Linked DNA regions of Homo sapiens: all the other regions are linked to region 7. Evidence: promoter capture Hi-C in 16 types of primary human blood cells and fetal thymus (Javierre and others, 2016). All regions are on one chromosome and are shown on one strand. Each heading gives the region's core, a stretch centred on a gene start or on the middle of the fragment in contact. The rest is flanking DNA. Distances are from core to core; before and after follow the strand shown.

The links. The method cuts DNA at HindIII sites, captures the fragments that hold promoters and counts their contacts. A CHiCAGO score of 5 or more calls a contact.
Region 1: a fragment that was not itself captured here is called in contact with the fragment with the promoter of PLSCR5-AS1 in region 7 in 2 of 17 cell types (total CD4 T cells and naive CD8 T cells); the score reaches 6.7 in total CD4 T cells.
Region 2: a contact is called between a fragment that was not itself captured here and the fragment with the promoter of PLSCR5-AS1 in region 7, in 2 of 17 cell types (non-activated CD4 T cells and neutrophils). The highest score is 7.3, in non-activated CD4 T cells.
Region 3: a fragment that was not itself captured here is called in contact with the fragment with the promoter of PLSCR5-AS1 in region 7 in 13 of 17 cell types (monocytes, naive CD8 T cells, activated CD4 T cells and 10 more); the score reaches 14.0 in monocytes.
Region 4: a contact is called between a fragment that was not itself captured here and the fragment with the promoter of PLSCR5-AS1 in region 7, in 4 of 17 cell types (monocytes, total CD4 T cells, M0 macrophages and 1 more). The highest score is 6.7, in monocytes.
Region 5: a fragment that was not itself captured here is called in contact with the fragment with the promoter of PLSCR5-AS1 in region 7 in 6 of 17 cell types (M2 macrophages, total B cells, naive B cells and 3 more); the score reaches 6.9 in M2 macrophages.
Region 6: a fragment that was not itself captured here is called in contact with the fragment with the promoter of PLSCR5-AS1 in region 7 in 2 of 17 cell types (neutrophils and M2 macrophages); the score reaches 7.4 in neutrophils.

The regions. Positions count from the first base shown.
Region 1 is chr3:146,128,580-146,131,845 of GRCh38, forward strand. The region is part of intron 1 of PLOD2 (procollagen-lysine,2-oxoglutarate 5-dioxygenase 2); the gene reads right to left. Among named protein-coding and RNA genes, the nearest start is that of PLOD2, 31 kb to the right of the region's middle. The HindIII fragment of the contact is 1,759 bases long and covers 872-2,630 here.
Region 2 is chr3:146,111,778-146,115,390 of GRCh38, forward strand. All of the region lies in intron 3 of PLOD2 (procollagen-lysine,2-oxoglutarate 5-dioxygenase 2), which reads right to left. Among named protein-coding and RNA genes, the nearest start is that of LNCSRLR, 44 kb to the left of the region's middle. The HindIII fragment of the contact is 8,067 bases long and covers 1-3,613 here.
Region 3 is chr3:146,241,621-146,245,144 of GRCh38, forward strand. All of the region lies in intron 1 of PLSCR4 (phospholipid scramblase 4), which reads right to left. Among named protein-coding and RNA genes, the nearest start is that of PLSCR4, 7.7 kb to the right of the region's middle. The HindIII fragment of the contact is 2,371 bases long and covers 831-3,201 here.
Region 4 is chr3:146,145,137-146,148,550 of GRCh38, forward strand. All of the region lies in intron 1 of PLOD2 (procollagen-lysine,2-oxoglutarate 5-dioxygenase 2), which reads right to left. Among named protein-coding and RNA genes, the nearest start is that of PLOD2, 14 kb to the right of the region's middle. The HindIII fragment of the contact is 593 bases long and covers 1,108-1,700 here.
Region 5 is chr3:146,079,154-146,082,669 of GRCh38, forward strand. It overlaps PLOD2 (procollagen-lysine,2-oxoglutarate 5-dioxygenase 2), which reads right to left. Exons shown (of 20, transcript NM_182943.3): 12 at 2,585-2,710; 13 at 1-104. Among named protein-coding and RNA genes, the nearest start is that of LNCSRLR, 12 kb to the left of the region's middle. The HindIII fragment of the contact is 291 bases long and covers 1,434-1,724 here.
Region 6 is chr3:146,095,975-146,099,436 of GRCh38, forward strand. All of the region lies in intron 7 of PLOD2 (procollagen-lysine,2-oxoglutarate 5-dioxygenase 2), which reads right to left. Among named protein-coding and RNA genes, the nearest start is that of LNCSRLR, 29 kb to the left of the region's middle. RefSeq lists an enhancer at 1,368-1,917. The HindIII fragment of the contact is 9,903 bases long and covers 1-3,462 here.
Region 7 is chr3:146,588,276-146,591,482 of GRCh38, forward strand. PLSCR5-AS1 (PLSCR5 antisense RNA 1) reads left to right here and starts at 1,327. Exons shown (of 2, transcript NR_046698.1): 1 at 1,327-1,513; 2 at 1,788-2,050. It overlaps PLSCR5 (phospholipid scramblase family member 5), which reads right to left. Exons shown (of 8, transcript NM_001085420.2): 6 at 1,378-1,539. The HindIII fragment of the contact is 1,724 bases long and covers 1-1,516 here.

The DNA.
Region 1 (3,266 bases), core at 501-3,000, 460 kb before region 7:
ATTTTGCTCTGTCTGAAAATTCAGATGAATTTCATAATTTCCCCAAAAATCAAGAAGTCAATTTGTTTAGAAAGGCCAAAACATGCTATGTCCTCAAAGCTCTAGAAGAAAAAAAAAATGCATTGTTGGAGTCATTTTTTTCTCCAAATAGCTGTTGATATCTGAACACAATTTACCAATATTCAGTGGTGACACAATTTTTCTATTCAAAAACAAACCATGGTTTTAAAACAGAAAGTGTTTTTGCTAATATATCCTGTCACCAAATGCTAAAGCAGCTTCTGAAGTCCATCTGAAATCCTTTTTTTTTTTTTTTTTTTTTTTTTTTTTGAGACGGAGTCTCAGTGGCACTGAAATCAATTTTCTTAATGAGGGCATCACAGTTAAATAACAGCACTAGCCCAGCTGCCTTTTATCCATATCTTCTCAAGTAACTTTAAACACAGTTCTTAATTTTAAACTGGCAACAATAAAAAAAAATTATTGTGCCACAGAAGTAACTGTGAGTACACTGTTCTCATTCTACAACTAACTGATTTTATGACCAGACATGTCTTTTATCTGTAAAGATTACTGTTTCTCAACTTTCTACTAAAGAAAAATGTTTTCGTAGTAAAAGCATAATAGAGATGTTGAGAAACTTCTTCTGCAAAAGGTCAAATAGTAAATATTTCAGGCCTTATGGGCCACATACACTGTCTAATACAATTTGATTTTTTCCTTATTTTTTTACAACCTTTTAAAAATGTAAAAAACATTTGTAGTTGTCTGGCTGGCTGTGCAAAAACAGCCAAGGGCCAGAATTGGCCTAAGGGTCATAAGTTTGCTACTTATCCATATAGTTGGCCATATGGATCTGAAGGCAAAGTAAAGCTTAAATCCCAGCTCTATTATTTCTTCTTGGTTTTGACTTGGTCAGTTACTTAAACTCTGCGTCTCAACTGTAATATGTCTGTAATAGCATCTACCTGACAGTATTTCCATGAGAGTAAAATGAGTTAGTATATATAAAGCAGTCGACACAAACTCCTACATATGTGTTAGGCAGCATCTCACACATATATTCAAAGGATGCATGTGCAAGATAGACTGTAGGTGATGTGCAAAACTCAGCGAGTTATAACTCCCATCCCTTTCTCTACCAGAGATGCTATCCAGATTGTTTTTAAAAATTATGGAAAAATAGTCGTGAAGCTGTTTATTCAAACAGTTTAGCAAGTAACTCTAGATACGCCTTCTCAAATCTTTACATTCCTCTCCATCTCCCAGCAAGCTATAATAACTCTAACTCAAGTTATAATCAGCACTAGCTCAGGTTTCTGCAATCGTCTCTTAGGCCAACTTTGTACACTCTAAACCTCTGTTTACAAAGCAGCTAGAGTGATCATTTCAAAACAGTTAGATATCTGACCATGTCACTTCATTGGTAAATACCCTCTTAGGATAGTAGAGAAACTCCATTACCACAATGTGGTCCTAGGTTACTTCTCTCCTCTCCAATCTCATCCACTTTCTCTCTCCACTTTGTTCTCTCTTCTCCAACCACATTGGCCTGTATTTTTATTTTCTAATAATGCCTGCACCCTCCCATTCAAAGAGAAGAGCCTTTTCAAGACCATTATCTAATATTCCTCCCTGACATCTTGATGTGGCCACTGCCTAGGTAAACCTGAGATTCTTACACATATGCTATTTCCTTAGAGAGACCCTCTCTGACCTACTAGAGTAGGCCAGTACCCATGTTTTCACTGCACTTTCTACCTTTCTTTCAGGGCACTCACCACAAATTGTAATTACATATTAATTTGCATAATCTCAAATTATGAATAATCTCAAATTATGTGAGATTAAAGTCTCTCTCTCCAATGAGACTGTAAGTTACAGAAAGGCAGAGAACATTCTTTTGCTCACAATTAGACCTCCAGAGCTTATCACAATATTAAGCACACAGTAGGTTCTTAAAAAACATTTCAGAATGAGTGGACTCAGGGGCAAGTAATATCATATGTCTTGCATGTAGGTGTGAATGAAATAATTTAACAAAATCCCTATGTAGTTAGCATAATCATCTCAAATTCACAGGTGGTTAAACTCCAGTAAAGTAATCGACTTAGCCAAAGTCACCTAACAAATTACTAGTAGGGCCAGAAGTAGAACTTCAGAGTTATTCCTCAATGTCATGTGGCCTCCCCTGGTGACAACAGGTTAAGGGCTGAAGCAATCATTGAGTTTTATTATGTTCAGAAAAGAGATAGCAACTTAAGACTTCTATCCTTAGAAAGATCTGCTTGTAAGGTTGGTCCTTGGCAGGCATCTGAAAAGTTGGATTCCATATGGTTTCCAGATGGTCTTCCAATGGGAAGGGTTCCCATCATTCCTAGATAAGATGGCTCACTGTGGCTAAATTATACAAACAATGCGGTTTATGCTGAACACCTGCCTTCCTTCTGGGTGCTTGAAATTTTGGTACAGAGGCTGCCTATGTGACCATTCTCCAGAAAAGTTATGGGCACTGAATCTCTAATGAGCTTCCATGGTAGGTAAACATTTCACACATGTTGTCACAACCAGTTAGTTGCTTGGAGAATTAAGCAGATCTTGTGTGACTTCACTGGAAAAGAACTGTTAGAAGCTTATTCCTGGTTTCCCTGGACCTCACCCATGTGTTTTTTCTCATTGCTGATTTTGCTTTGTATCCTTTCACAATAATAAGTCATAGACATGAGTACAACCATATGCTGAATCCTGTAGGTCCTCCTGGTGAATCACTGAACCCGCAGGTGGTCTTGGGGATGTCCGACATATTATCCTAGCTACAGTCAGAAAGTCTTATCTGAAAGAGGTACTATGGGGATAGTGCATTATGCTGTGTTCTGTACTCAGAGGCGAAGCTAGAGAGATATAAAAATGACTCCAAATGGATTCCAGAAAATAAGTATTTGGTACATAAAGTAATCATACCCTGCTCTTCCACTGACTGAAAGTCATTTCCTTTAATGTGAATTATGACCTCAGGGTCAGTCTAGCAAAGCCCACTTCTTTCATGAAGGAGGAAACCATAATCTAAAGAGAAAACAAGACTTATCCAGGATCCTGCAGTTAAGTGGTAACCAATCTAAGACAACTCGGGATTCACAGTTACTAAAAAACTTGGTTTTCCTAGGTTTCATTGCACACAATTTTGTTGCTTTGTTAAGTACTGAGTCACCAAAAACTATGACGAACTGAAGGCACGAAGTCTAATTTTATTTTGTGGAATTGTTGAA
Region 2 (3,613 bases), core at 943-3,442, 480 kb before region 7:
AAGTACAACTGATTTCCTCAACCGGATTTAACGGTGATATTTTCCTCAAGACTATAAGTTGTTGATAATTTTTTTTTTTAATAATGAAGACTGGGAAATAAGACCAGTTTTATGGGTAATTAGGCCATGAGAAGTGAGGCAAATAAACTAAAGTCTCTGAAAGAGCGACTACCATGCGAGTGATAAACAGACCCTTTGTGCATTGCCTGGAGATGGGGAAAAATAGCTTGTGATGTCAGAGCATCTTACGATTGGAGACTCTGACTAAACTGAGTCTGAAATTTTGCAGGTAGCAGCATGCATACAGTGTGGCAATTCCTCAAAGATCTAGAATCAGAAATGCCATTTGACCCAGCAATCCCATTGCTGGGTATAAACCCAAACAATTACAAATCATTCTTCTATAAAGTTACATGCACACATATGTCTACTGCAGCATTATTTACAATAGCAAAGACTTGGAACCAACCCAAATGCCCATTAATGATAAACTGGAAAAAGAAAATGTGACACATATACAACATGGAATACTATTCAGCCATAAAAAGAATGAGTTCATGTCCTTTGCAGGGACATGGATGAAGGTGGAATCCCATAATTCTCAGCAAACTAACACAGAAACAGAAAACCAAACACCACGTGTTCTCACTCATAAGTGGGAGCTGAACAATGAGAATACATGGACACAGAGAGGGGAACATCACACAGTGGAGTTTGTCGGTGGGCGGGGGGCAAGGAGAGGGAGAGCATTAGGACAAATACCTAATTCATGCAGGGCTTAAAACCTAGATGAGGCCGGGCACAGTGGCTCATGCCTGCAATCCCAGCACTTTGGGAGGTCAAGGCGGGCGGATCATGAGGTCAAGAGATCAAGACCATCCTGGCCAACATAGTGAAAACCCATCTCTACTAAAAATACAAAAATTAGCTGTGCGTGGTGATGTGCGCCTGTAATCCCAGCTACTTGGGAGGCTAAGGCAGGAGAATTGCTTGAACCCGAGAGGTGGAGGTTGCAGTGAGCTGAGATCATGCCACTGCACTCCAGCCTGGTGACAGAGTGAGACTTGGTCTCAAAAAAAAAAAAAAACAAAACTCTAGATGATGGGGTAATAGGTGCGGCAAACCACCATGGCACATGTATACCTATGTAACAAACCTGCACGTTCTGCACATATATCCCAGAACTTGAAGTAAAATAATAATAAAATTTAAAAATTAAAAAAAGTTATAAATGCACTTTTGGAATGTGAGTGAATATTTTTTGTCTTTGAAACCCTAATGATGGATACAGATTATATAAACAGTATAGCTCAAACTATTAATAAATGTCAGTTGTTTGAAAAAGAGTTATGGCAACTTTTATAATTTAGCGTTTTATAAGCCTGTATTATCTTTATAACAAAACACAATTATTTTAAAGCAAAAAGTTAAGACAAAAGTTATCACATAATTGCCTTTGAAGAAAAATTTCACGTTGCTGAAACCTTTCCTATCTCATTCGAGTAGCACTGCTATTTCTGTGTTTAAATACTTTAGAAAAGTTATTTGAACTTACTTAAAACTTCTCAAAGGGCAAGGAAGGTTTCCTACTTAAATTTATTTTGGCTGTAAAAAGTCAAATTGTCAAATTTAAAAAAATGCACACAGGTGTTGCGGGAAGTCAGGGACCCCAAATGGAGGGACCGGCTGAAGCCATGGCAGAAGAACATAAATTGTGAAGATTTCATGGACATTTATTAGTTCCCCAAATTAATACTTTTATAATTTCTTATGCCTGTCTTTACTGCAATCTCTGAACATAAATTATGAAGATTTCATGGACATTTATCACTTCCCTAATCAATACTCTTGTGATTTCCTATGCCTGTCTTTACTTTAATCTCTTAATCCCGTCATCTTCGTAAGCTGAGGATGTGCGTAGCCTTAGGACCCTGTGATGATTGCATTAACTGTGCAAATCGTTAGTAAATCATGTGTGTTTAAACAATATGAAATCTGGGCACCTTGAAAAAAGAACAGGATAACAGCGATGTTCAGGGAACAAGGGAGGTAACCATCAGGTCTGACTGCCTGAGAGCCGGGCGGAACAGAGCCATATTTCTCTTCTTACAAAAGCGAATAGGAGAAATATCGCTGAATTCTTTTTCTCAGTAAGGAACAGCCCTGAGAAAGAAAATGCTTTCCTAGGGGTAGGTCTCTAAAATGGCCGCTCTAGGAATGTCTGTCTTACACGGTTGCAGATAAGGGATGAAATAGCCCCAGTCTCTGGTAGCACTCCCAGGCCTATTAGGACGAGGAAATTCCTGCCTAGTAAATTTTAGTCAGACCAGTTGTCTGCTCTCAAACCCTGTCTCCTGATAAGACGTTATCAATGACAATGCATACCCGAAATTTCATTAGCAATTTTAATTTCGCCCCGGTCCTGTGATCTCGCTTTGCCCCCATTTGCCTTGTGATATTTTATTGCCTCTGTGTGCCTCTGTGACCCACACCCTATTCATACACTGCCTCCCCTTTGAAAATCACTAATAAAAACTTGCTGGTTTTCAAGGCAATGTAGTGCCCTGAAAACCAAGTACGTCTCAGGTATTTCTTATAGCAGCGTGAAAATGGACTAATACAGCAAAAGAAACCCAAATTATCCTCGAAGAGATGACCTGTAGATAAGCAAAAGTATCCAGCCAACAGTCCCAGCTAACAACCAGACATACTCTCAGTGGAGCAGCCAGATTACTGCAGCCACAAAAGTGACCCCAGGAAAAATCAGTAGAAGAACACAGATGAATCCAACCAAACTGCATAATCATAAGCATTGATCCAACAAGCATTCCTAATAAGCCTCCCACACACTAATTTCCACCTAAGATTCTACTTTCTGGAGAACCCAATCTGCAAAATTTGGTACGAAGAGTGGGGAAAAGGAAAGTAGAGGTAGCTACTGGAGAACGTGCTCCACCAAATTAAGGGAATAAACTAAGAAAGAGGAAGACATGAAAAACAGGGCACAGAAGAATCCACACAGGGTAGAGTCACAGAGGATTCCCATATGATGGTGAAGGGAAGTCCCTGCAGGCCTAGAGACGCATCAATCCCAACTGCGGAACAGCACAGGCTCTGAGAGGGATGTCTTCATTAAAATCGACAAACTATCAATGTATTGACTACACTGAGAAGAATTCCAGGATTCTGTAGAAAACTTGGGGGGGATGAATTAATAAAATGAATATAGAAAACAAAACAAAACAAAAAAACTTGCTGGTTTTGCGGCTTGGGGGGCAGCACGGAACCTGCCAACATGTGATGTCTCCCCCGGACACCCAGCTTTAAAATTTCTCTCTTTTGTACTCTTTCCCTTTATTTCTCAGACCGGCCAACACTTAGGGAAATAGGAAAGAACCTACGTTGAAATATTGGGGGTGGTTCCCCCGATACACAGGTCATAAAAATATTCTCACAGAAATTGAGTCGATCTACATGTGAAGAAAATAAAATTTTCCACATATAACTGTGGTAAGTATGCCTGGGTCCTGAAAAAACCATAAGATTCTACCTGATGTGGTCATACTGAGTCCCCTGCCAGACATGTCAGTGTTCTATCTCAATAGATGATTGA
Region 3 (3,524 bases), core at 766-3,265, 350 kb before region 7:
AGGAAAAATCAGCAATGATATTGGCACAACTAGACAGCATCATCAACCAACACTGACATTTGTAGGACACCCACCCAACAGCATTAGAATAACCATTATTTTCAACGTACGGAACATTCACCCAGACAGACCACATTCTGGCTCATAAAACAAATCTTAAAATATTACAAAAAAATTAAAATAATACAGCTTGTTCTCCGACCATAATGTAATGAGCTAGGAATTACTAACCGCAAGATAACAGGAAATTCTCTAACCACATAAAAATAAAACAACACATTTCTACGTAATCTAAATCATAACCTGATAAATTAAATTGGGCCTAAAGCTGCCTCTGTAAATAGCAGACTGCAACTTGATTTGAGGTTGTATTCTTGTAACAAGTAGCTGAGTCTCAGCCAATGATGGTAGTGGAGCTTCAGCCAATCACGGGCTGTCAACTGATCAGACCATGTCCGTTGAAGGCAAATGCCTCATCACACCATGACCAAATAAAGCAAATACCAGGCTGGATCCAATCAACTGATTTATGTACGTCACTTCTTTCCTCTGTTTATGAATACTGCCTGCCCATGTTGCTCGGTGGAGCTCTCTGAAACTCTTCTGGTTCTGAGGGCTGCCTGATTCATGAATCGTTTTTCGCTCAGATAAACTCTGCTGAATTTGCCTAAAGTTTTTCTTTTAAGAGTTTCACATGAGAAGTCAGATCTTGAAGCAAACTTCCAGTGATCCCAGGAGCACTGAGTGACCAAGTTAAGGTACCCAGCATGCCCAGTGTACTCACTGCTCTTTCGCAGCAACTGGGGTCATGGGTGAGATTTTTGAATCTAAGCTTCATGAACTTCTGATTTGAGCTGAGTTTGAGCATTTTTGATCTACACTGGGTTTCAAAGTCATGCCAACAACAGGACTGGGCCCAGTAGGGAGGCCTCAGGTATTTGACTGGGTCAGACATAAACTCAACTCAGTTAGTAGGTAGGAAAGGTTAATAAAAGACATAGAATCATGGGTTTATCTGGTCAAAGGTTGCTAGAGCTTCGCCCTCTGGAATTCTAGCCAACTTCATGTATAAAAACCAGAGACCCAGAACCTGTGCTTTTCGAGACGAATGGGAGAACCTTAGCAAAAGTAACTTAGAATGGCTACAGTGGGAAAATTCCTTACGAAAGGCAAACAGGTTTATGTCTTTACAGTTGTAAAGGCTACAGGGCCCAAGAGGATCCCAAAATAAAGAACCCTATGCCCCAAGATGTCTGCCTTTATGGTAAACACTCATGCAACTGGAAAATACATTGTCCACTTTTATATTAGCCATCTAATGGATCCACTACCTTTTGTCTGAACTATTTCTCCACCAGAGAAAGCCCCCAAAGGCTTTAATCCCAAAACAGTAACCCATCAATCTCTCAGGGAGGAAAAACAAATTCTGTGGTGGGGGTTTCAAATCAAACCTGGAAAGTTCCTAATTGACACTTGGACCATTTTCAGAAAAAAAATTTGTAAGAATTAGTTCTGTTATCTGTATTTCATCCTGCTTCTTCCATGGGGATCTCTCAATTGACTGAAACCCCTCTTCTCAAACTCCTGCTAACAATATGCTCTACCAACTGTATACATCTTTTTTTTTATTATACTTTAAGTTTTAGGGTACATGTGCACAACATGCAGGTTTGTTACATATATACATCTCTTTCTTATCATCATGATCCTGACTATGCTCCAAAACTCTTGAAAAACAAAAAAATAGAAAGCAAAACAAAAACTGTGTTGTCATTTATTCTTGAAAACAAAGAAATGAACAAAAAGGATGAACCAATCTCTAACTTTAAGAAAAGATTATAATATTCATGCAGAGTTCGGGCACATAAAATGCTGTATAGACTAAGCAACCCTAATCCAAAAGTCCAAAATCTGAAATGCTCAAAAATCCAAAACTTTCAGCACCAACATGATGTCACAAGTGAAAGATGATGAGGACACTGTTAAAACTGCAAAGTGCCTATAGATGACATGGTGAAAATATGTGATGGGTTTACTGAAGGACTCTAAGAGCATTCATTCATCACAGAATAAGAAATTGTGTCAGTCTGTAAAATCAACAGAGACTTCTAAGACAAAAACCATTGTTAATGAGACAGCGGACTCCAGAGGAAACATTCTGAAAAGTCATCCATCAGAATGCTTCCTCATTTGTAGAGAAAACACTTGCTGGTCACTTGGCTACTTCTGATATTTCTTCTCACTTAAAATAATAAAATTCAGTGAATGATAACCTTGTAATCAAAATACAGCATTGTAGGTAAAGAATGAAAGCCTGCCATTGCTTATTGGTGGCTTTCCGACACAGGCATTCTGGAGATACTACTGTGCTGCTTAGTTACCCTGAACGCATTCTCTTTTCACTGTACTAATGATACATCCTATTTTTTACTGTTAAGCACTTATTTGTGAGTAATGTAAGAAAATGATTACTTATCAGTAGCATAATGAATTTAGAGTCAGGAATGATGGTGACGTCAAATAACCACAGATTGTCCACATGGGTGATTGAGATACTGATACCTTTGCTTTCTGATGGTTCAACGTACGTAAACGTTTCATACACAACATTATCAAAAATATTGTATAAAATTATCTTCAGGCTATATGTTTAAAACATAATGGAACATGAATTTCATGTTTACTTGGGTCCCATTCTCAAGATACCTCATTATGTACATGCATGCCTTGTTTTACTGTGCTTTGCTATACTGTGATTCACAGATACTCCATTTTTTTAAACAAATTGAGGGTTTGTGGCATCCTTGTATCAAGGAGTCTATCAGTGCCATTTTGCAGAACAGCAACTTCTCAGTTTGTCTCTTTGTCAAATTTTGGTAATTCTCACAATATTTCAGACTTTTTCATAACAATCTGTTATGGTGATCTATGATCAGTGATCTTTGATGTTACTATTATAATTGTTTTGGGACCCCATGAACCATGCCTATATAAGATGGTGAACTTAGTAAGTGTTGTTGTGACTGCTCCACAGAGCAACTATTCTCCCATCTCTCCCCTTATTCTAGGACCTCCCTATTCCCTGAGACAAAACAATATTGAAATTAGGCCAATTAATAAGCCTACAAATGCCTCTAAATATTCAAGTGAAAAGAAGGTTCGTGCATCTCTCACTTTAAGTCAAAAAGCTGGAAAAGATTAAGCTTAATGAGGAAGGCATGCTGAAAGCAAAGACAGGCCAAAAGCTAGGCCTAGATTCCTCTGATGAATCTAGGCAACGTAAATTGAAAACTTTCTAAAAAGGATTCACCATTTTAGATACCACTAAGAACTTTTGTTATTCATGGGAGGAAGTCAAAATATAAATATTAACAGGAGCTTGGAAGAAGTTGATTCCAACCCTCCTGGATGATTTTGCGTGGTTCAAGACTTCATTGGATGAAGTACCTGCAGATGTGAGAGAATAGCAAGAGAACTAAGAGTTAGAAGTGAAGCATGAAGATGTTACCGAATTGTTGCAGTCT
Region 4 (3,414 bases), core at 154-2,653, 440 kb before region 7:
GCTAAACTGACTACATCCTAGGCATATCACCAAAACAAATCCAGATTCCCCAAATATTTTTGTCTTCATCAAAATAAAAGCAAATGTTTTTAGCTGTATCATTTTAAACACACACATACAAAACCAAAAACTAAAACTGCTATGGTGACATAATAAACCTAGATAGGCATGTATTAATCTAATCCAGCCATTCCCAATCTAGTTTTGTCTATGTGTTAATTTGAACACTAAGGTACATCTACCTACCACCTGAAATTATCACAATGAGCAAAACAAATGAAATTTTAAAATAAATAAATACCATGTGTAGTTGGGGTGTCCCAACTCCAAATAATGTGAGGAAGATCAACATTCTAATTTGAATGCAAGATACTCCTCTGTAGATTTGTTCAGCAGGAGTTTCAGCCATAAGCTTAACTATAGTTACTGTTACGAGCAAAGAAACTACAAAAGTAAAAAACAATTACATAAAAACCAAACTTTCAAATAAAAATTGTGAAACATAAATTTACAATTAGAAAGTACAGTTATGGTAGTCCACAAAGTTTTCTTTTGTACTTTTGTTATCATGAATTTTTAAAAGGCTGAGTCAAATTAAATCCTTCCTTCCTTAATGAGCCAGAATTTTATTACTGACATTATCAAAATCCAGAAGCTGTGAGTAAGCCCCACTTTTATCTCAGAAAAGTGACACTAGTCAGCTAAGAATTTACTGAAAGTTATAGGGTGCTGTATAAAATAAGAGCACTAGTAAATAAGAAATGAATGAATAAGTCAAACAAATATCATAAAATTGTAATTAGGATTAAGTTGTACCATGCCGTCTCTTCCATAAAAGTTACAATCCACTGGCCTCAAAACAATAAGGATGGTGAGGGGACATAAATTTCTATTACTTAGTTGCCTCTATTTCATAAGTTTCTTTTTTTCCCATGACTTTATTAGAAATTGGTCTTCTTAAAAGCTGACAAAGTATTCAACATGCTTAGAACTTTATAATAGAGCTCCACGTTAAAAAGCATGTATTTCATGTAATGCTAAGCCCTTACTTGGGTCCCTATTGTCAAAAACATCCATAAAAATTTAAAATAATTTAATGCTTTGCCAAGCTTCAGGAAGAACAATTACTGAAAAAGTCATGAGAAAATCAAATATTAAAGGTGCATTTCTCCAAGTTCTTTGGAGCTAAACATTTGGATGTAAATTATACCCCTCCTCTAAGATGTATTCCTGTGAGATTTGAAAAACAGATGGTCCTATCCCTATCACTTTTGGCCATTTCCATTGGTAAGCATGGTCAGAAGGATACGGTTTACCCTACACCAGTGTTCTAGGGTCAATCTCACACTTTGTGGGAACTGGGGAGGAGGGCGGGTGGACGGAGAGGGAGAGAAAGAGAGAGAGAGGCAGAGAGACAGACAGACATATGGACAGCAGCAAAGGCTGTGGCTGAATTCTGCATTGTTGGTATAGTCACTGCCTCATGGGCATAAGGAATCAACAGAGACAGCTTCTCCATCCCTGGGTTACATTTATGGAAGCCTATTTCTGAATTCAATACTTCCAATGGTGGGCTCCTGATTCCCCGCTGGGACAGAGGTAGTAGCCTCCTAGTTTGGTCAGCTATTTCTGCTATTCTAGAAGTCACTGCTGAAAGTTTTGCTAAAGCCCATTCTTCCAGGCTTTCCAGTAATTGTATAAGCTTGTAATTACTTTTGTTAAATCTGTTTTTGCTCAAGATATCTAAAATGGGTTCTTCGTTTGAATAGAACCCTGACCAACATAGGGTTCCTGCTTATCTTGTTAGTTGTGACTAGGGCAAGCCATGGGTTAATGGACTATCCCTCTGTAAGGCCTATAGGCAGAGAAGCTTCCGAGGTTGGGAGTTCTAAGGCACAGCAATTCAAGAGATACGATCTCTATCCTCTTGCAGGTTAAAATCCAACTAAGAATGTAAAGTTAGTTCATATGAAAAGACTGAGAATAACATACTAAATACTAATTTAAATCACAGATTATATATTTGCAGAGAATACTGTAGGAGTTCAACATTGAAGGAACAATAAAAATCTACAAAAAAATCACTAGAATATAAGACTTAATATATCTATGTTCAGGCCTTAAAAAATGACAGACAGTATTTTCACAGTCAAGGAACCTGGAAATATAATCCCCCCTCCTCCAAAAGATGTGTAAAAGCATGATCTCTTGACTGGATAGTGAGGAATCCAGTATGAACAGAGTGCAAATTGGGAAATGATAATAAATACATTTGGAAATAGAGAAGACACTAGAAGCGGGGCAGTGAAATTAGAAGTGTGCCATCAGACTGTAGCAGAGTTTCCCAACTTCAGCACTATTGACATTTGGGGCCAGATAATTCTTTCTTGGGGTGGGGCTGGGAGAGAGTGATGGGGTCATGCTGTGTAATGCAGGACACTTTAGCAGGGTCCCTGGACTCAACCGACAGGATGCAAGTAGCACCCACTGCTCAAAACAAAATGTCTCTAGACGTTACCAAATATTCCAGGGGGGACAAAACCACTGGACCATAGGCTGAAAGTCATAGCATGCGAAGAGTCACTGGACTTAAGAAAGATGAGACAAGAAAAATAATTTCAGAAACAATGATAATTATCTAATTCAGTGATGTATACAGAGAGGGGGCTGCAAACACATCAGTGAAGAGGCCAGGCACCTGCTATGGTGACTGGAGTGCACAAGCACCCCATCCAAGGAGAGGACTTCTCAGAGTCAGCCAGCTGTTGTTGCCATACGGGAAGGAAAACCCAGGGTTTCCAGGCCTTCTTTTCCTTTTTTCTCCTCCAAAACAAGAAAGATTCTGATTTTTAAGTAAAATTTCCTGAAACATAGAACTTAATTTGAGGCTTTTGAAAAACAATATTTAGGCTAGATTTGACCCTGAAGCTACCAGAGTCCTGCAGTGTAGACTAAGGTAAGTGACAGCTTGGAAGGTGTTTAGGAAGATAAATTTATGGATCCGGATCAAACAAACCAACTATAAAAAGACATACTTGAGAAAAAGAGGCAAAGGTGAATTTGGATAGGTATTAAATAACATTAAGGAATCACTGTTGAATGCAATAACAATATTAAGATCATGTTAAAAATAATCTTTACCCGTTTCAAATATCTAATAGATATCTAATTATTTATACAGGCAGGCAGGCAGGCAGGCACGCACACACACACACACACACACACACACACACTTTTCACTACAGATGAAACAAACAAAAAAAGACAGAGACAAAATAATGAGCAAAGCACTATACCTAAATACGAAGAATAAATCAGAGGAATGAGAAAAAAATGACTTCAAAGTTTTGAAGTTCAAAGTTAGAGGTCTCTAGTCTCCTTGTATAGTGAGCGCCCTCTGGCTATATCAAGAAA
Region 5 (3,516 bases), core at 329-2,828, 510 kb before region 7:
CCAGTTTATCACGAACAAAATAGTTCCTTTCATTCATCTCTGATCGGAGTGTCTTTCCTTTAATTAAGTACACATTAGCCATATATGGGACATTCCATACTCCTCTGAAAGTAAAGAGAAGACATTCTTATATACCACAAATACAAACAATTTTAAGTTTCATTTTTACCTTTTTAAAATAAATGCTTTGTGTTTAGATTTTGTATACATAAATTATTGAATCAACATACAAATATATTCAATGATATATATATAAGATTACATTGTATACACTATATTTAATGAGATTTAGGAGATAAACCACTGCCCCTTTGGATACATTTCAATTTTGGGTTGGTATCTGTTTGGCATTTGTATTATAGCTATCATATCTCAATCAGTTGTTACAATTAGACTATTATAATCTATTGTATAGACGGTGTTTCTATTTAAAATTAAAGAATTTGATAGCATGAATCATAACATACAACCAGTGGTGCACTAGACCCAGCTCATACTGGCTCCCCAAAGTTAACTTTTTCTGCCAAGTCCATGTTCAGTAATTTCACATTGGAAACTTGAAATCAGCCATGGTAGAAGTATTTACACCAAACAAATGGGCAAGCACTTTAAATCAGGGAATCCTCCACCTCCAAAAGCCAGTTGTTACACATTTACCAAAATACCACTGAATATAGCCTAAAATTCTCCAAAATTATATTCTCTTACCATTCATTAAGCCATCTTAAATATTTTATAGAAAAAGGAAAACATGAAGAAATACAGCTGGGAGCACATGAACGTTGCATCCTTTCCCACATCTATATTCTCACTCTGAACATGACTGATTTCATAAAAACTGCAAAACAAGTTTTGCCCCTAAGACTGTGCGCCTTTCTTTTAGAGAACATCAAGGCAAGATCTTGACCAAGAAATGCAGTTAGATATTAACGGAAATATGATATTATGTCTTACTAGACTAGCCTCAAAGAAAAATGCCTTAAGGAGTACAGCAGTCCCCGCCTTATGTGAGGGTGATACATTCCATGACCCCAGTGGATGCTTGAAAGCAGATAGTAACAAACGCTACACATACACTACGTTTTTTCCTACACATATATACTTATAATAAAGTTTAATTTATACATAAAGTACAGTAAGACTAACAACAATAATAGAACAACTATAACAATATGCTGTAATAAAAGTTACATGAATGTTTACACTTTCTCTATCTCAACATATCTTCGTATTTTCAATCCACAGTAGACTTGAAACCATGGAAAGCAAAACCATAGATAAAGGGGAATTACTGTATACAACGTGTCAGCTAAATTCAGAAATTAATCTCTGGGGAATTATTCAGTGTTTCAACTTATACACACACACATACACACACACACACAGTTGCTCCTTCGTGTAGCTTTTGGACATGAAGTGTATTCCAGATCAAAAGCTTCTGCCATATTTTTTTCCTTATACTTTAGACAAGAATGACAGGAGGTTGGACAGAAAATCACCAATGCCTAAAGCAACTTGAAACAAATTTTCCATTCTACTTTCACAAACCCTCATTTGTGATGTGCCCAAAGATACAATCAGGTATATTGTCTATACAACTCACCCAGAGTCAATACAACTGCACAGAAACAACAGAATACGATCTTAATAGTCTTTTCTCCTCCACTGTGCATTTTAATTGCAGCTAACAAAAACCTTTATTGTATTTACATCATTCAGATTGAAGCTTTCCACACCAATTACTATTTCCACAAGCAACACATCTTTTTACCACTCAACTGTTTGAACAGAAACGTGTGCCTTTTTTTTTCTAAATGTAAGGGCACATCCTTTTAGTCCTGAGAGTATACTGCCCCTTTTTAATCAGGCTGACATGTTTGAGAACTAAGGCAAAGCATGTAATGTCTTAGTCACTCTGGTCCATCATATGTATGAAAAAAAGAATGACATTCTTCTCCAATATTACCTTAGCAAAACTATTTCAATTGTGATTATTTTTAGTAATCAACCATTGTCTCTGAAATAAATATAAATCATGCACACACTTTTCAGCAAATATATTCTTTTCAATCTCTAGAAGTGAAAATCTAATATTGGTAAAAAAAACTTGTATTTAAAGCAGAATAATAGCTATTTCACACAAAAAAACTCATGCAATCAGGAATACTGGAATGTTCTGGCTGTTAGTGTTACTGTTGGCTTAATTATAAATTTTAAAACCTATCAAAACAACCCTTAATTATAACCATTAAAAAGTTAGTAAACTAAATCCCCTTTCCAAGCTTTTAAATAAAGAGTATTACTCTTCTATCAACCATAATGTGAGTATGGTAAACATATATTATCTCTTAGTATTCCCCACAGCAATGAGCTTGTTCCTTTGAAGATTTGGGACTTTAAAAACATTTTTTTAAGATATTAGTTTTATACTAGTATTTCAGGATTCCAAGTGGTCTTGGGTTCTCAAATTCCCATTAACTATAAAGAAAAGAGATGAATGCAAAAAAAATTTCAAGTAATACTAACAAGACTACATCTTTAGATTATGGTATTTCACATTAAAATATTAAACCAAGTAACTTACACTCTATTCCCTTGAACAATATCCACATAATCTTCAGATCGTGCATAGTATCCATCAGGACTCAATGCTCCCCAGAAATTGGACCACAGCTTTCCATGACGAGTTACAAGAGGAGCAATGATCTTTCTAAAGACAGAGAGAGTGTGTGTGAGAGAGAGAAACCTATATAATTATTTATTTTTAAATTACCACAGAATTATGTATTTTGGGCTTAGTATGACATATAACACAAGAAAGCTCATTCAACAAACCTGTAGTTAATAAAAATAAAATAAGGATCTTCTTTCCCAACATCTTTTCTTAAGTAAGTATATTGCTAATTTTCAATCATATTTCTTAAAAAGAGTAACAAAGAAGGAAAAAGTAATTGAAAATGCTAATGAATACATAAAAATGACTTTTAAAAATGCCTTGCTTACATCCAACAGAGGGAAACTACTTTAGTTATTTAATTATATTTAAGTTTAACTAAAGTATTTCGGAACCTATATTAAATGAAACCAAATATTTTCATTGTCACTGGGTGAACAACAGCCCCTGGTGCATTTAAGATATTCAATGAATATTTGTTGAATTTGTAAAAAATGAATGAAGATGAACTGAGATGTTTGTAAACAGGCAAAGCTTTCCTGTAATTAAGTCTCAAATTACTTAAGTATGTTTCCAGTTTTCCATGACTTTAAAAAATGACTTGTGATTACAGTAAGCTAGTCCTGGCAACACTGAACTTTCCTTTAACTATTTTAGAAAGCAAATTTATGGAACAACTATTCTTTATATGAAAAAAGAAAACCTATTTCACCTCTATCTTGTGAAGACCAGCCGGGCCCTTTCTATTACATGCACAAAAGTGAAATAAATAAACACACATCGGGCCCGGCGCAGTGGCTCATGCCTGTAATCCCAGCACTTTGGGAAGCCGAGGCGGGCGG
Region 6 (3,462 bases), core at 170-2,669, 490 kb before region 7:
GCAACCTCCCTGCCTGATTCTCCTGCCTCAGCCTGCCGAGTGCCTGCGATTGCAGGCGCGCGCCGCCACGCCTGACTGGTTTTCGTTTTTTTTTGGTGGAGACGGGGTTTCGCTGTGTTGGCCGGGCTGGTCTCCAGCTCCTAACTGCGAGTGATCCGCCAGCCTCGGCCTCCCGAGGTGCCGGGATTGCAGATGGAGTCTCGTTCACTCAGTGCTCAATGGTGCCCAGGCTGGAGTGCAGTGGCGTGATCTCGGCTCGCTACAACCACCTCCCAGCTGCCTGCCTTGGCCTCCCAAAAAGCCGAGATTGCAGCCTCTGCCCGGCCGCCACCCCGTCTGGGAAGTGAGGAGCGTCTCTGCTTGGCCACCCATCGTCTGGGATATGAGGAGCCCCTCTGCCTGGCTGCCCAGTCTGGAAAGTGAGGAGCGTCTCTGCCCGGCCGCCATCCCATCTAGGAAGCGAGGAGCGCCTCTTCCCCGCCGCCATCCCATCTAGGAAGTGAGGAGCGTCTCTGCCCGGCCGCCCATCGTCTGAGATGTGGGGAGCACCTCTGCCCCACCGCCCTGTCTGGGATGTGAGGAGCGCCTCTGCTGGGCCGCAACCCTGTCTGGGAGGTGAGGAGTGTCTCTGCCCGGCCGCTCCGTCTGAGAAGTGAGGAAACCCTCTGCCTGGCAACCGCCCCGTCTGAGAAGTGAGGAGCCCCTCCGTCCGGCAACCACCCTGTCTGGGAAGTGAGGAGCGTCTCCGCCCGGAAGCCACCCCGTCCGGGAGGGAGGTGGGGGGGGTCAGCCCCCCGCCCAGCCAGCCACCCCGTCCGGGAGGTGAGGGGCTCCTCTGCCCGGCCGCCCCTACTGGGAAGTGAGGAGCCCCTCTGCCCGGCCAGCTGCCCCGTCCGGGAGGGAGGTGGGGGGGGGGAGTCGGCCAGCCGCCCCGTCCAGGAGGTGAGGGGCGCCTCTGCCCGGCCGCCCCTACTGGGAAGTGAGGACCCCTCTGCCCGGCCAGCCGCCCCGGCCGGGAGGGAGGTGGGGGGGTCAGCCCCCCGCCCGGCCAGCCGCCCCGTCCGGGAGGTGAGGGGCTCCTCTGCCCGGCCGCCCCTACTGGGAAGTGAGGAGCCCCTCTGCCCGGCCAGTCGCCCTGTCCAGGAGGGAGGTGGGGGGGTCAGCCCCCCGCCCGGCCAGCCGCCCAGTCCGGGAGGGAGGTGGGGGGTCAGCCCCCCGCCCGGCCAGCCGCCCCATCCGGGAGGTGAGGGGCGCTTCTGCCGGGCCGCCCCTACTGGGAAGTGAGGAGCCCCTCTGCCCAGCCACGACCCCGTCTGGGAGGTGTGCCCAGCGGCTCATTGGGGATGGGCCATGATGACAATGGCGGTTTTGTGGAATAGAAAGGCGGGAAGGGTGGGGAAAAAATTGAGAAATCTGATGGTTGCCGGGTCTGTGTGGATAGAAGTAGACATGGGAGACTTTTCATTTTGTTCTGTACTAAGAAAAATTCTTCTGCCTTGGGATCCTGTTGATCTGTGACCTTATCCCCAACCCTGTGCTCTCTGAAACATGTGCTGTGTCCACTCAGGGTTAAATGGATTAAGGGCGGTGCAAGATGTGCTTTGTTAAACAGATGCTTGAAGGCAGCATGCTCGTTAAGAGTCATCACCACTCCCTAATCTTAAGTACCCAGGGACACAAACACTGCGGAAGGCCGCAGGGTCCTCTGCCTAGGAAAACCAGAGACCTTTGTTCACTTGTTTATCTGCTGACCTTCCCTCCACTATTGTCCTATGACCCTGCCAAATCCCCCTCTGCGAGAAACACCCAAGAATGATCAATAAAAAAAAAATAATAATAATAATAATAATAAAAAAAGAAAATGTGGCATATATACACCATGAAATACTATGCAGCCATGAAAAAGAATGAGTTCATGTCCTTTGCAGAGACAAGGATGAAGCTGGAAACCATCATCCTCACCAAACTAACACAGAAACGGGAAACAAACACTGCATGTTCTCACTCATAAGTGGGAGCTGAACAATGAGAACTCGTGGACACAGGGAGGGGAACATCACACACTGGAGCCTGTTGAGGGGTGGAGGGAAAGGGGAGGGAGGGCATTAGGACAAATACATAATGCATGCAGAGTTAAAAACCTAGATGACGGATTGACAGGTGCAGCAAACCACCACAGCACATGCATACCTATGTACAACAAACCTGCACGTTCAGCACATGTATCCAAGAACTTAAAGTAAAATTTTAAAAAGCTACCAAATTCATAATTAAGATGTATATTGTTTGATATTTAAAAGAAAAGGCTGAACATTAAAATATGCATCTTATACATTACTAACAATAAATGGGTTTCAAGAAAAAGTAAACCTTCAAATTAGAAACCAGTTTCTATCTAAAAATTGATTCATATTAGATTTATACAGACCAAGTATGAAAATAATTATTTAAAATACCTAAATATGTTTTAAATAAAATGTTAATTAAGAAACACAAAATTGTTTATATACTACTATGAAAACAAAGGAAAATATAAATGTTCATAGATATATACTGAGGAGACATAAAAACTGAAAACAGCTATGAATTAAAACCATATGGGAGGGCAGTATAAATGATTTTTAAAATTACTTAAAATTGTTAATATTTTTTCCAATGGCATAAAATTTGGAGAAAGTAGGAAATAAGCTCATTTTTTATACTTTAGTATCATCAACATACTATAATCACTTCACCACTTATAGATTATATACATTTTTAATGAAAAAACTGCTTAAATGTTTAGTTCAATATTATGGCTCAAAACCACTATCATTATAAACATCCATTACTAAACAAAATAATAAGTAAAACTAACTTACAAAAAATCATACCAAAAAATCCTTCCACCTTTTATAAAGGTTAAAAAATGTTTGTAATAATCAGCCTTCTTTCCCCATCAGCCTGGATAAGAAGAATACGTGACATACTCATTTGAATTTATTTAACTTTAACCTAATATTATAAAGTATTAGTGTTAAATGTTTACATATTCAAATTTTCTCGAGTTTTTGTATTATACCAAATATAATATCTATAATAAAACTTCATATTTTATTGTCTAATAGAATAACAAAATGAACTAGATATGATAATATCAGAGAAAACATAATAGGAGCATCACATAGCTTGAAATGCCAGAAACAGTGATAGTGCAAACTGAAAATGTTTCCAAGAAGACTTAATATTTCTTAGTACACCTAGGTCTTTCTAAATGATTAAGGATTAGTGCTCCTTTTCTTGTGATATGTCCTTTAGTCACTTTTTAAAGCTCCAGTCAGCATCATCCTGGAAATTTGGAAGGAATTGGTGATCACGTTGAAATCACTGAACATAAGGCCTTATCCATAATCACTAAATTCTCAGGACCAAAATCACTCCTCAAAGACATTTAAATTTTTGAGACACAATCTCGCTTTGTCG
Region 7 (3,207 bases), core at 77-2,576:
CTGGCTAACACAGTGAAACCCCATCTCTACTAAAAATACAAAAAAATTAGCCGGGTATGGTGGCACATGCCTGTAATCCCAGCTACTCGGGAGGCTGAGGCAGGAGAATCGCTTGAACCTGGGAGGCAGAGGTTGTGGTGAGCCAAGATTGCGCCACTGCACTCCAGCCTGGGTGACAGAGTGAGACTCTATCTCAAAAAATAGAACAAAAAATAAAACAAAAACAAAAATGCCAATGTCATGAGACTCAGGGAAATGCACATGCATGTGCACATGTTCATGCACACACATATACACACACACACACCCCTTAGGAACAGTTCCAGGTGAAAAGAAACAAATGAGATGTGACAAAATGGACATACTTCATGATCTTGGATTTTCTATTGTCAGAAAGGACATCATTATGCAAATCAGTGCAAACCGAATAAAGTCTGTAGATTAGATAATAGCATTGAATCAGTGTTTAGTGCCTGACTTTGACAATAGTACTGTGATGTGTAAAAAAATTCCTTGTTTTTAGGAAATGCACACTAATATAATTAGGGGAAAAGGCATCATGTCTGCAACCTACTCTCAACTCTTATGCTGTTTGTTTTAATCACTTATGTGTGTGCCTGTGTATACACATCTTTTTCATGTATTTATAGAAAATACATGTGTTTATATATCAACAAATAAAAACTCCATAAGTTTTTATGGCTGCATTGAAAATGGTAGGAAATTAGGTAAATATTAGAGGGAAAACTAAGAACAGGATATAGGTCAAGCATTTTGATACAGGTATTATTTGACTTCTGTTCTTCTATCACCAATCTCCATATACCAAAGAAGAAAAGGTTTTCAATATAATTGTAAGTTGGAAAGTAATAACAAGAACATAGTATCTTAGAAATAATGGCAACTGGTACCTATTAACTCATCAAATCATTTCATGTGTCTATGTTCACACTGAGAAGGCAACATTCTTAATATCATCTAGCTCACTATTATGCAATGAACCAGTCTGGAACTTTATCCAGGATAAATCATGTGATATTTATGTTTGCATATTTTTTAGTTCAAGTGAAAATAAGCCAAAAATCTAAATTGAACGTAAAAGCAAGGGGAAACTAGGTTTTAAAGAAATGATGAATAGGATGTGATAACACTTCAATCTTTGAGAAAGGGGATATGAGATCACTGAAGAGGGGCTGCCTAACAGAAATGCAGGGTTCTAAATTCTAATTTTTGAAGAACATTGGTCCTAAGCTATCCTTCTATGAATAAAATATACTCTTTGGGGGTAAAAACTGTGTAAATGGGATAGGCTATATTGTAATTAACAAGCAAGAGGGAGAATAACAAATCACTCATGCTCTCAAAGCCCATACTTACAAAGAGAAAACAGGCACCGATCATTGCTGCTTTGACTGTTACATCTAGATCTGCAGGAACATGAATTCCGAAATTGTCAGCATTTGTGAAGACATCATTTACAAATCCTGACCAGTACTTTGAAATCTTCCCAATTGTAAGCTTTTCATTAATGGTTTTCACCTTTAGAAAGAAAATAAGGAGTATTAAATTTGACAGTGAAAAAAGTTGGTTTTATACTTCTGAGGGTGTTTACTTCATGAGAGATTTGAATTATTTTATTTGTCATCTTCAAAATGACAATTCCATGTTATTCATTCCATCATATAAGCATAGGTTTGTAAATTTAGCTTTTCAGTTTACTTTTTAGAAACTTTGCTTTTTTGACAGTTTTCTAGTCCATCATAATTCTTTTTCTTTTTTGTATGCAGATGGAGAATATCAGGATAAATAATTAAGGCTCAGCCACCACAAGATGGCAGCAGGTACATAGTTCAATTGTATCATCTAAGCATGAAGGCGATTTCTTTACTTGAGGTCCAGATTTTAAACCTGAATTCTCCATCTTAAAAATGTAAAAGAAGATATGTTTGAAAAAATATTTCAGAAGGAATTAAATTAATTTCTAGGCATAATTTGTAAACTTTCAAATTTCAGTTGCTAAAATTTTATAATTATTAAAACATTTAAATATTATTGGCCATTGTTAAATCACATTTTTATATTATACTCAGACATTTATTAGGTCAATACTTTCTAACAAATCCTAAATCCTATTTTTACATTAAAAAAATCCTCCTGGTTAATGTACCATATAGGAAGTTAAGACCAACTAGACATCAATCAGTCCTTCTCAGCTAGAAGGAGTTCACAAATCAACTTTATCAGCTATTTGTTTGTTTATTCTGCTTCCCATCCTGATGCTGAAAGTAATTCAAGAGAAACTATCACTTTTTTCAGGGTAGTAAAAGATAGAGAATAGAGAGGGTTACTTAGGACATTTCTATAGCATGAATGCTAAAACTCTTATGTTTAAAGTCCTCCTCAATCATATTACTCGTAGGAAAGTCATGCCAAATCCTTTGGGGATAGGGTGAAGTTGGAACAGCTCAGTTTGCAAAATTTGCATTGTATTCTACGTGCATAGTGTTTCCTGAAGTCCTGAGAACTAAATGCCCTTGCTGAGATATTTATGTATGAATGGATGAAAAATAAATATACACTTTCAATTAGGCTGTCTCCTCTACCTAAGTTGTATGTCCAGGACAACCTGTTAAGATAGTTTATATTGCTACAGATCAAATTTACAACTTTCTATTTTTTAAATATTCAATTTATACAAATACGAGAATAAGGTTTTTTTTTGTTTTTTTTTTTTGTTTTTTTTACAAAACTAACTTAGCAAGTCTTAGAAACACAGCTTTTGAGTTAATGCTGTTTTAATGTAACGTGCTGCTGAAATGAGATCTAAACTGGGATATGTGATCTCAAGGCCCATAGGAAAGAAGATACATAATTTAGGTGATTCTAAACTGTATATATTGGCTTTATTGCCATGTGTCCTGTGATTCTACATAAATAAAACATACTGAAACAAGAATGAAGTGCTAATTTTCAAAATCAGGAAATATTGGTTATCTTAAAAAGGCAAAGCTATGTGTCCAAAAATTTTTGATGTTCAAAGTCTTGCACACATTAAAATAGCAACACATTTACTATTCTAATCAAAGAGATATAGTAGCTTTGTCCATAGAACACATAGAATTATATTTAGCTAAACATGCTTTTATTATAGTAAAATTTATTAATATTACTTTGGATAATACTTACACTGGTCTATGACAGATATGA